2 separate regions of the Homo sapiens genome follow, and region 1 is linked to region 2. The links are contacts of gene promoters, found by promoter capture Hi-C in blood cells and fetal thymus (Javierre and others, 2016). All regions are on one chromosome and are shown on one strand. Each heading gives the region's core, a stretch centred on a gene start or on the middle of the fragment in contact. The rest is flanking DNA. Distances are from core to core; before and after follow the strand shown.

Region 1 (6,138 bases), core at 1,903-4,402, 130 kb before region 2:
CCAGGCAGATCACAAGGTCAAGAGATCGAGATCATCCTGGCCAATATGGTGAAACCCTATATCTACTAAAAATACAAAAATTAGCTGGCATGATGGCGCATGTCTCTACTAAAAATACAAAAATTAGCTAGGCGTGATGGCGCACGCCTGTAATGGCTTCTCAGGAGGCTGAGGCAGAAGAATCGCTTGAACCCGGGAGGCGGAGGTAGGCGGAGGTTATAGTGAGCGGAGATCGCGCCACTGCACTCCAGCCTGGTGACAGAGCAAGACTCCCTCTCAAAATAATGATAATAATAATAATAATAACAATCTCTTGGGTAAGGGATTCTGCATTTGTCTATAGAACAGGCTTGTTAATAATTTCTGCACAAATCTTCTAATCCTTATTAATATGCTTTGCTTGATCTATTAGTTACTAAAATATGTGTCTTTAAATCTCCCTCTATAATAGCAGCTTTGTCCATTTGTCCTGTGGTTCTGTCAATTTTGCCTTATCTATTTTGAGATTATTTCAATGTAGCAAGTTCAGAATCATTACATTACCTTAATGAATTGCAATTGTTTTTGTTTTTCATCGTGCCGTTGCCCTACAGTCTATTTCACCTGATATAGTTAGACCAGACTGCTTTTGGTTAGTGTTTGCCTGGGTATATCTTTTTCTGTTCTTCCATGTTTATCCTCTCTTTGTGTCCTTTTAAATATGCCTTCAATGATACATACCTGGAAAACATTTTCTGTAGTGTCATCATCTGGTTTTTAACGAATGGGTTTAATTCGTTCATATTGATTCTCGTTACTGATATAGACTATTTGGGTTTATTTCCATGATCTTATTTTTCGTTTTCTATTTGTGCTGCTTTTTCTTTTCTTTTCTTTTCTTTTTTTTTGAGATGGAGTCTCACTCTGTTGCCCAGGCTGGAGTGCAGTGGCGCGCTCTCAGCTCACTGCAAGCTCCGCCTCCTGGGTTCACGCCATTCTCCTGCCTCAGCCTCCCAAGTAGCTGAGACTACAGGCGCCTGCCACAACGCCCGGCTAATTTTTTTTTTTGTATTTTTAGTAGAGACGGGGTTTCACCGTGTTAGCCAGGATGGTGTGCTGCTTTTTCTTTGTGGCTTCTTTTTCTCTCTCTTTTTGGATTTACATCAGCTTTCTTATTTTTCTCAATCTGATATTTGTTCTTTTCTACTCCTCTTATTCTTTGAGTGGTTACCTTTGACATTTTTATATGCGTAATTAACAAATTATAAAGTTAATCTAGGCATTTGTGTTTTCCTGAACACTAAGGGCCTTAGAAGGCTTTAACTTTGGCTGGGCGCCGTGGCTCACACCTGTAACCCCAGCACTTTGGGAGGCCGAGATGGGCGGATCACAAGGTCAAGAGATCCAGACCATCCTGGCTAACATGGTGAAACCCCGTCTCTACTAAAAATACAAAAATTAGCTGGGTGTGGTGGCGCATGCCTGTAATCCCAGCTACTCAGGAGGCTGAGGCAGGAGAGTAGATTGAACCTGGGAGATGGAGGTTGCAGTGAGCCAAGATTGAGCCACAGCACTCCAGCCTGGAGACAGAGCGAGACTCCGTCTCAAAAAAAAAAAAAAGAAAAAAAAAACTTTAATTAACTTTAATTACTCTCCCGACCTCCACCTCAGCTTACATGTTATTATTTTATAGAATTTATATATGTATTATATATAGGATTTAGATATATGTATATATAGAATTTATATATATATTCTCGGCCTCCCAAAGTGCTGGGATTACAGGCGTGAGCCACCGCGCCCAGCCCACATCTTTTTATTTCTTTGTATTGCATCCTAATATTAATTTCTTTAGGTATATCTTCCAGTTTACCATTTTCTCTCAGCTTTATTTGATCTGCTATTTTATCTGTTAATTGAATTTCTTTTTAAACTTTTATGATGGCAATTTTCAAGCTTATGGAAAAGAAGAGAACTTAGTTTATAAATAGATGTTGCATATACCACTCAGCCTCAACAATGATTAATACATAGCCGATCTTGTCTCATCTTTTCTCCCACCCATCCACTCCCACCCAAGATTATTTCAAAGCAAGTCCCAGGCATCTTATTGCCATGGAGTTTAATTTTTTTTCAATTATTATGTGTTTCATTTCTGAAATTCCGTTTGCTTCTCTTACTAATCTATCTGCTCTTTCTGGATGGTTTCTTACTCTTTGCTTATATTTTTATTCTCTCTTATGGTTTCAATCATTAAATATAGGTTTTTTGTTTGTTTGTTTGTTTGTTTGAGACAGAGTCTCTCTCTGTTGCCCAGGCTGGACTGCAGTGGCACGATCTCGGCTCACTGCAACCTCCGCCTCCCGGGTTCAAGCAATTCTCCTACCTCAGCCTCCTGAGTAGCTGGGATTACAGGAGCCCGCCACCACGCCCAGCTAATTTTTGTATTTTTAGTAGAGACGGGGTTTCACCATGTTGGTCAGGCTGGTCTCGAACCCCTGACCTCGTGATCCACCCGCCTTGGCCTCCCAAAGTGCTGGGATTACAGGCGTGAGCCACTGCCCCCGGCCTAAATATACTTATTTTGTATTCTGTATCTGATCATTCAAATCTTTGCTAATTTGGGAGATTTTGTCCTTTGGTGTTTCTGCTGACTCTTGATCATTGCAACGTATCTGCTTGTGCATGTTTGAATTTTGAAAACAGAGATAAGTTTTCCTAAGTTACAGGTATTAGTTGCCACTTGCTAGATGTCTTGATGAATGTCCAATAATTTTGTCTTTCCAACCATGCAAAAAAATCTCATTTCTTGGTATAGTTGAAGACACTGAAGCTCAGAGAGGTTAAAAATTTCTCTGAGGCTATACTACCCATAAATAATGGAGTCTGGGTTTGAACCCAAACGACTTTACTTTGAAACCCTTCCCACTCTCCTTCCGTTCCACAATTTACCATCCGTAGAGGAAACTGACACCCAATATAAGCCATGGAGTACCCGACTGCCACTGAATTGGGCACTTGGGGTTTCTTCATGGTATTCTACAGGGGCTGCTGAGGAGACAAAGAGCCTCATGAAGGCTTCTTACACACCAGAGGTCATTGAGAAATCAGTGAGGGACTTAGAACACTGGCATGGCAGGAAGACGGATGATCTGGGTAAGTGAGGAGCTGCGGGTGATGGGAGGCAGGGACTGTCCTCCACCAGCAGGGTGTGTTGGCTCTAAGGGTCAGAGAGAAACCAGAGCAGGAGACAGAGCCGGGGTGGACTTGGAAGAGGTACGAGTCATCCCTGGGGTCTGGGCAACTCCAGAGACTGCCAGATGATCTAATCTGTGCTGGCTCTTCTCCTGCTCGCTGTAGGGCGGTGGCACCAGAAAAATGCTATGAACCTGAACTTGCAGAAAGCACTGGAAGAGAAATATGGAGAAAACAGCAAATCCAAGAGCTCCAAGTACTAGTTTTGACACAGTAGAGGTGTCTTCTACTCAAATAAAGTGCTAACAATAAGGAAAGGCTCAGGTCCGAGTCCTCCTGTGCTTGGTGCCTTTCTTCACACTGGAGTAGAGGCCGATATGTGGTGTTGGAGAGACCAACTGGGGGAAGATAGAAGCCCTGGGGTCCCAAACTATTCCCTAGTCCTCCCTCCTGCACACACATGCACACACACGTACCTTCATCCATTATCCCAGGAAAGGACATGAGAGCTGGGCATGACTCTGTCTCAAGCCCAGGGTGCCTGGCTTCTCCCACATGCCCTATGTGAGGGGGTCCTATAGTGGACACTGCTGGATCTTACCCTACATGCTCTTCCTAGAAGATGCCAATTATTCCCAGACATCCATTCCTCCCCCACGAGACACGGACTTCAGAGGAGTTGGCCACACACATTTCCTCCAATCTAGTGGCGGGTTTGATTGGTCTCATGGTGATTCTTTACCCCTACCCCAACCCCACCTCTTGCACGTGATTGGTTCAGTCATGCACATATGACTCAATTTGGGCCAATAAGATGCAAGGAAACGTGTGGATGCGTGCAGCCTTCTGGGAAATTCTTTTCTCAGCTGGGAATGCTGAGAGAGCATCCATCTTTCCTGATGTAATGAATGAGGAACCATGCAGCCCAGACCACTCCTGCCAGACACCTATGACCAGAGGAATTGCAGACCATGCAGCACATTCTGGGTCCTCCATGGCCTCGCAGAGCTGCTCCATCAACTTGGCCAGAAGCTGCCGGCCTCTGGACTTCCTGTAATGTGAGCCTGAGGTCTCCTCATTGTTTAAGGAGCCAAAAGCATCCTCAGACCATAGGGGCTTGGAGCCCCAGGGAAGAGTCCCCAGATAATGGGTTCTAGGTCAGACGGTTCTGTTTTCCAGTTGATCCTGAAGCTTTTCACCTGATGAGTCTCTAAGCCCGCAGCACACTCCACCCCGAGATCACTGACTTGCACCCTCAGACCGTGCTCTACCCATGGGTTATTTATTATTTGCTGTGTTCCAAAACACCACCAAAACTTGTGGGCTTAAAATGACATGATCCTTAATTTGCTCATGATTGAGCAATTTAGGCAGGGCTCAGGAGGTACGGCTCATTTCTGTTCTGTATAGCATCTGCTGTGAAGACGCCTGCTCCTCTCCCATGCCTAGTGCCTCAGCTGGGATGAGAACCACAGTGGGGGGCTGGCTGATCATCACTCTCTCTCATGGGACCTCTCTTCGTGGCTCACTTGAGCTTCTTTTGGAATGGGGACTAGGTTTCAAGAAGGAGCCGTCTCAGGGGACAAGATTCAATGTGCAATGGTTTATCAAGCCTTGCACTGGCTTGTCAATGTCCCTGTGGCCAAAGAGACATATGGCCAAGCCCAGACTTTGTGAGAGGGGACTACATAAGAGTATTACTGTATGCAGGAATGGTTCATTGGCGACCTCAAAATAATAGTTTGTCCTGGTGGTCATCTTGCTTTTGAAAGATCAAAAGCGAGAGGAAGAATCAAAATCACTACTGGGAGAAGAGGAGACATGTTCCTACTTCTCCCTCAACTGCCCCTCCTCCCACAAAAGGGAATGACTTACTTACTTTTTTTTCTTTGTCTTTTCTTTTTTTTTTTTTTTTGAGATGGAATCTGGCTCTGTTGTCCAGGCTGGAGTGCAGTGGTGTGATCTTGGCTCACTGTAACCTCCGCCTTCTGGGTTCAAGCTATTCTCCTGCCTCAGCCTCCCGAGTAGCTGGGATTACAGGAGTGCACCACCATGACCAGCTAATTTTTGTATTTTTAGTAGAGATGAGGTTTCACCATGTTGGCCAGGCTGGTCTTGAACTCCTGAGCTCAAGTGATCCACCCGCCTCAGCCTCCCAAAGTGCTGGGATTATAGGCGTGAGCCACCACGCCCGTCCAGGAATGACTTAAAGGTAGGGTTGGATCAGAATGCAATACAGGGAAGTGAATCTGACTTGATTTAATATTCATCAAATATCTAATTATGTGCAAAGTGCAGAGTTCAGTTCAACTTCTTTACTGGGTACCTAGTTTCTGCAAGACACTGTTCTGGGCACTGGAAACACTAGACTTTGTCTTCATCAACTACTATGTGCCCATCACATGTGACACCTGAAAAAATGAGCCACCCAAAGTCTTGTGGCTAAAGCAGACTCTGTGCTGTTCTGACATAGAAATGATAACGTGGCAAATGATTATGTGCCACATGGTTTATATACGGAACTGTATTTCATCCTTACACCAGTCCTCAGAGCTGTTATCACTCCCTTTATGAAGATGAGGAAACTGAGGCTTGGAGAGGCCAAGGAAATTGTACAAGATTATATGCATAGGAAGCTGGGGGTGCAAACCCAGGAATTTCTATCCAAAGTCACTTCTACTCTACCAGGCAATCGTACTGCAGTGTACGTAGTATGACAGTGCAGTGCCTAACAGGGCTGAGTGTTTGTGGTGCCTGTTGACGGAGCACCACAAACACTCAGCCCTATTAGGCACGGTGAAAACAGCAATATGAATGCAATACAATATGCAATATGCATATGCAATATGCAATACAGTCCAGACCTCAGAGCTTTGCAGTCTGCAGGAGATTGATGTGGAAGAAGCTGCCTTAGAGACTTATCTACCCATGATATGCCCCTGCCCAGCCCTGACCAATGAGCTG
Region 2 (5,458 bases), core at 1-2,500:
TGTTCCCCGCGTAGGCACACACCAGCCTGGCCTGTCTCTGGTGACCCCCTGAGTGGCCTCCACGTAGGTAACAGAGGTCACCTGCTGTTCCAATCCAGGGGGTGCAGGGGCCAGGCTTTGCGTCCTCAGGGCCCCCGCAGCTTAGAGCTCAGACCTGGCTACTGAGGAAAAATTCTGAAAATGCTTCCCAAGCGACGAGGCTAGATGCTGGTGAGGCCGTGCTCCAAGCCCCAACCTTGCCAGTCACTCTCTGTGACCCTGAGTAAGTCTCTTATCCTCCCTGGGCCTCAGATTTCCAATCTGTACAATGGCAAGGTTGGACTAGAAGAATCTAAGACCTTTTCCGTCTCAAAGATCCACCCATTCATTCATTCATTTATTCATTCATTCAGCAACATTTATTGAGCCCTTGGTCCTGGTGCTCAATAGGGATGAGCTACCTCCTAGTGATACAGCAGCGATCAAAACGGACACAGCCTCGTGGAGCTTGCTTCTCATGGGGGAGCCAACGTTCAAGAAAAAATAATAAATGAGCATATAATATTATTCCTGTAATATAAGAACCAGGCAGAAAAGGGAAATAGGGCAAAGGGTCAGACAGCAATGAGGTAGGGGCTGTCAGGAAGGCTTCTTGGAGGAGGTGACATTTGAGGCAAGCCCTGATTAGCGGAAGAACAAGCCAGATTCTGTGAATTCTGTTTGCGCAGAAGATGGAAAGTCATTGCTGATCACCATGTGAAGCAAAGGGCCCCAGCCTGGGACCCAGGACACCTGCATTCCTCTCCAGACACTGCCGGTCACTCGTTGTGTGACCGTGGGCAAGTCACTCCCACTCTTGGAGCCTCAGTGTTCTCATTTGTGTCTGAGGGTGGTGAGCCACAGCTCAAAGTTTCGTTAAAGCAGTTCTGAGAGGTTGCATTTCTGAGTATTTGGGTTCTGACTCAACCCCAGCCTCTCATGTTGATCAGGGACTGCAGAAGGACTGGCCTTTGTCCCTAAGGCCTATGAGGAGCAGTGAGAAGGCCCGGGGGCGGCCACACCCCGGCACTCACCTCTCGGCCCGCAGCTGCTGGGCCACAGCCATGGTGGGCGATGGTCCCAGGGAGCAGGTGGAGAGTCTCGCCCAGCCAGTCCCAGGCTGAGTTCACCTCTCACTTCCTCCAGCCACCCTGCGTCTCGTCTCAGCCTGTGGTCCTGGGAGTCCCCAGGAGCTGCCTTTGGGGAGGCTCAGGCCTGCTTCTCTCCAGTCTGGCAGAGGCTCCTCCTCCAGGCTCTCTGGGCCTAGCCTGTGGCCCACACTTCCTCTTACCTCACCTCCCAGCTGCACAGAAATTGAGGAAGTGGACCCTCGGGTGCCAGGTTTGCAGGAATCCACTTCCTTGATGTCAGTCCTTGGCGCCAAGCCTCAGTTGGGTATCAGAAGCCTTGCTCCATCAGAGATGGGGTCCCAGCCATCAGGGTGTCTTGTGACCTTGAGGAGTCACTTATCCTCTGGCCCATCAAGCCCCACCTTTATTCTCTTACTGCCAAGCCTTTGCCCAAACTCTTCCCCAGGCCTAGAATGCTGGCCTCCATTTTCCTGTGATCTCTTAGGCCCAGAGTAAATGCCACCTCCTCCAGGAAGCCCTCCTGGTTCCTCTGGCCTCTGTCTTCCTAGAGTGTGAAGTTTGGTTTGCGCGCCCTGGCACTCTGGGATATCCTTTCCTCATCCTTAGATCTCCATGCCCAGCCAATCCTCTTTCACAGGGCTGCCAATCAGAGTGAGTTTCACCCTCCCTGCTTAAACTCTCCTGCCCCATCACCCTGTGCTCAGGATAAAGTCCAGAGTCCTTGCCCTGCCTGCCTCCAATGCCCCTGAGGCCCTGCAGCCTTCCCCAGCCTCTGCTCCTGAGCTCCCTTTTTCTCACTGGCCTCCTTTCCGTTTCTAGAATGTTCTAAGACGTCCGCCCCAAGGCCTATGCTCATGGTGTTCCCTCTGCTGGAAAAAGCTCTTCACTGCCTCCTTTGCATCTCAGCTTAGAAGCTACATCTTTAGCGAGGCCTTCCCTGACCACACACCCTAAATTAAGGCCCTCCCTACTACATTCTCTCACAGGTCCCTGCACGTCTACTGCAGAGCACTCATAACTATTGTCATCTCACATTTGTTTGTTTATCTGTATGTTTAATGACTGCCTCCTTGGCTAGCAGCGTGCCTGGCACATTGCAAGTGCTCAACCAATATTCAGTGAATGAATGAAACGCTGCCAGTCAGTGACTGCAGCTCCTAACAGGTATGGGTATTTGATTCTGAAGGGACTTCTCTGAGAAGAGGTCCACAGGAGTCATTGGCACAGCCACACCCAGTAACTCCCTGCCAGCTACACACGCTCACACACTCGTATTCATACATGCAGAGCAGAAAGTTGTTTTAAACTACTTTAAACATACAAGTCCCAGCTAAAAAAAACAAGAAAGCATAATTTTTAGGTAGGATCAAAGAGAGGGGTCAGGAATCTATACCAGGGGGAGAGGAACGTGGCCAACAGCCCATGGGAAAACCAAGATTGGATATGCATTGTTGGGCTGAGATTTTAATGCCAAATCTGGGACTAGGTACAGGCCACAGGTCCTGCTGTTAGCAGAAAGTCAAATCTGAGTTCTCAGTGTAAAGTGGGTGTCAGAACTGATTATGGGAACAGAGTTTCTCAGCCATCAGCCTAGAGTCACGGCAGGAGCTGAGGTCCTCTCACAGTCCATGGGTGGAACAAGGGACGTGTGTACCAGATCAGCCTCAAGCCTGCCCTCTGCACTGGTGTAAGGCCCCGATATAAGCTACCCACGTGGTGCAGAAATCCTAAGCTGAGGCATTATATAAAAACAGCTTGGAGTCAGTGACTCTGCAGGGCCTACTCTGTCAACTCACAGACCAAAACTACAAATCGTGAGCTGTGAAAGACAGCTCAGAGCCTCCACATCATGAAGAATTCACACCCAAAGAACTAGAAATAATACAAACAATAAGTCTGATGAGTTGCTGGTGTCTCGGGGCTCCCAGGCTAGAGGATGAAATGAAACACAGAGCAGGGTTATTAGTGCAGGTGTCTGTAAGTACCAACAGGTGCAAGCACACAGCCATAACTGAGGGAAGAGGAGGACATTGGCCTACAGTTGGTCAGGAAGGACAGGAAGTGGCAAAACAATTTTAGCAAGCAAGCATGATACAGAATTTGTAGGTGATTGTGTAAACTGTGTGTGTAGTATATGCCTATAGTTGGAAACACATATTTGTGTATAAACACATACAGCTCGCATAGGCAAGTGTAAGTGCATTTGTGTTGTGTCTATAAAAGACCATATAATGTGTATAGTGGTGGCATTGTGGCTGTGAGAGAATGTGTTTAGATGTTTAGGTTGCAGTCGGTGACAAATGAGTATAAACACAAGTACATTTATAATAGGTGAACTCAGGCAAGATAACATGTCCTTTTTGAACCTTTCTTCTTCACCAATCTGTGAAACAGTCTTGCCTAATGGAGTTGTAGTAGGAATTAATAGAAAACTGTATAAAAGTGCCTAGACACATGGACATTTCTTATTCCTTTTTTAATCGTTTTCAGTGTGTATATCTGTATGTGTGTGTTTCAGGTGGGTTAAGCCCTCAAGTTTACCTTCCCAGGTATTTTCATGGCTTGCCCTCCAAACCCCGGCCCCCCCAACCCCCCAAGAAACCTCCTGTGGCCCTGACTCAGCCACTGGGAAGCCACCTCTGCACCTGGGGGACAAAGATGTCCAGGGAAGAGCCCGCGACGGGCCAGCTCTTCCCCTCCTCCCCTCTTTCTCTCCTTTTCTTCTGTCCCTGCCCGTGGTTCTGCTGAATACAGGTATTTCTCTGTCTCCTCATACACAGAACGCTGCTGCCAATTTTATGCCCGAGCTCTGATACAGTGTAATTTGAGGCCAGGCACTCTGTCAGCAATGGGCTCCTGTCCTGCCGCTGCAGCAATGCCTGTACCTTCTACTCCCACTCCAGAACCGGGCTCTTGCTGCTCCTGCTGCAGGGGGAGAATGAGGCAGAGGGATGACCTGGAAGAGGAGCCAAGCTCTTCACACGTTCCATTAAACAAGTATGGATGGAATCTTTTTTGGATAAGTGCAAAGAAATGCCTGAAGTGACCTCTCACTTATGGAGACCTGATTTTTGATAACCTCCACATCCCACAGCCTGTGAATAAACCAAAAAAAGAGAAAAGCCATTGAATGGTTAGAATTGATAGCTCAAAGTCTATGCATTGACACTGGCATATTTTATTCACAGAAGAAATATAAAAGGAGCCTGGTCCTCTCTTCCTGCCAACTCAAGAACTTGAAGCAGTGAGTTAGGGGAAGGAAGAAAATTACCAGGGGCAGCCAAATGCAAGCGACAGTTCAGTGACAGCCTGACAATGATAAAGACCATGGAATACCAAAAAATATATATGTTCTCAAGAACTCAAAAAACAAATACCAGAGGCCATTCAGAGAAGGGCATCTCTGCATAACACCACTTACTAATGCCCATTCATAATCACATCTCCAGGAAAAAGTCTAATACACCAAGACCATGCCTGGGGGATCCCCAGAGCCTGAATGGGGACTGGATGTGCGAATCACAAAAGTGCACAGCACTTTTCAGTCCTTCCTCATGCAGGTGCTGGGGTATACAAGATAAACCATAGCCCCCATTTTGGACATGAGGAAACTCTCCTTTGAGCAGCCAGCGGCTGGGGCTGAGAGCTCCAGCCATAGGAACTGGAACTCTGTGATAGGGAGGAGGTGAGCCTCTTCTACAGGACCAGGAGATACCCTTGAGAGCTCATTATAGGTACTCAGCAAATCCCCACTGCCTACATCAGCCACTCTCCAGGGTAAGAGAAGGAAAATCCCTGATTGGACAGTGTAAGATTCCTGGGGATCCCTCACACACTGAATTCCCCAATCTTGACCCACATGTGTCTCCCTTTATAATTTATGAGGGGAACTTCACTGGACCTCCTCCCTGAGCCATAAATAGCCATCCCTGGCATGCCACCCAGGCAGGGAGGGTGTAGACGTGGCCAATTAGACAGCAAACTCCCTGAAGGCAGAGGGTCTTCTCTTCTCTGAGAAGCCCTGGCACACGGCTGAGCTGGGTCTAAACCTCGTGTGCCCTCGCTGTGTCACGCATTAGTTGTGCAAACTCTCCGACCATTGTTCAGTTTTCTAAATGGAGATAATATTTGCCTCTACATTATTAATTGGAGAGAAAAATTGCAGGATTATTGTATTATTCATTTCCAAATGTGTTGAGAACCTACTATGTGCCAGACACCCACTGTGTGCTAGGCCCTAAATGAAACACAGACACTGTTCTTGAGACACGCACTTACTAGAGGTGTGTTAACTAAGGGAATGAATACCAGATGTTTAGGACAGTGGCTCGCGCATAGCAGGTGGTCAA

Evidence for each region. The method cuts DNA at HindIII sites, captures the fragments that hold promoters and counts their contacts. A CHiCAGO score of 5 or more calls a contact.
Region 1: a contact is called between a fragment that was not itself captured here and the fragment with the promoter of NCF4 in region 2, in 5 of 17 cell types (endothelial precursors, neutrophils, M0 macrophages and 2 more). The highest score is 9.2, in endothelial precursors.

The regions. Positions count from the first base shown.
Region 1 is chr22:36,988,478-36,994,615 of GRCh38, reverse strand. CIMIP4 (ciliary microtubule inner protein 4) reads left to right here. Exons shown (of 6, transcript NM_001163857.2): 5 at 3,025-3,135; 6 at 3,340-3,491. The coding sequence ends at 3,437. Among named protein-coding and RNA genes, the nearest start is that of CIMIP4, 16 kb to the left of the region's middle. The HindIII fragment of the contact is 2,430 bases long and covers 1,938-4,367 here.
Region 2 is chr22:36,856,798-36,862,255 of GRCh38, reverse strand. NCF4 (neutrophil cytosolic factor 4) reads right to left here and starts at 1,250. Exons shown (of 10, transcript NM_000631.5): 1 at 1,053-1,250. The coding sequence starts at 1,084. The region is part of intron 1 of NCF4-AS1 (NCF4 antisense RNA 1); the gene reads left to right. The HindIII fragment of the contact is 9,996 bases long and covers 1-5,458 here.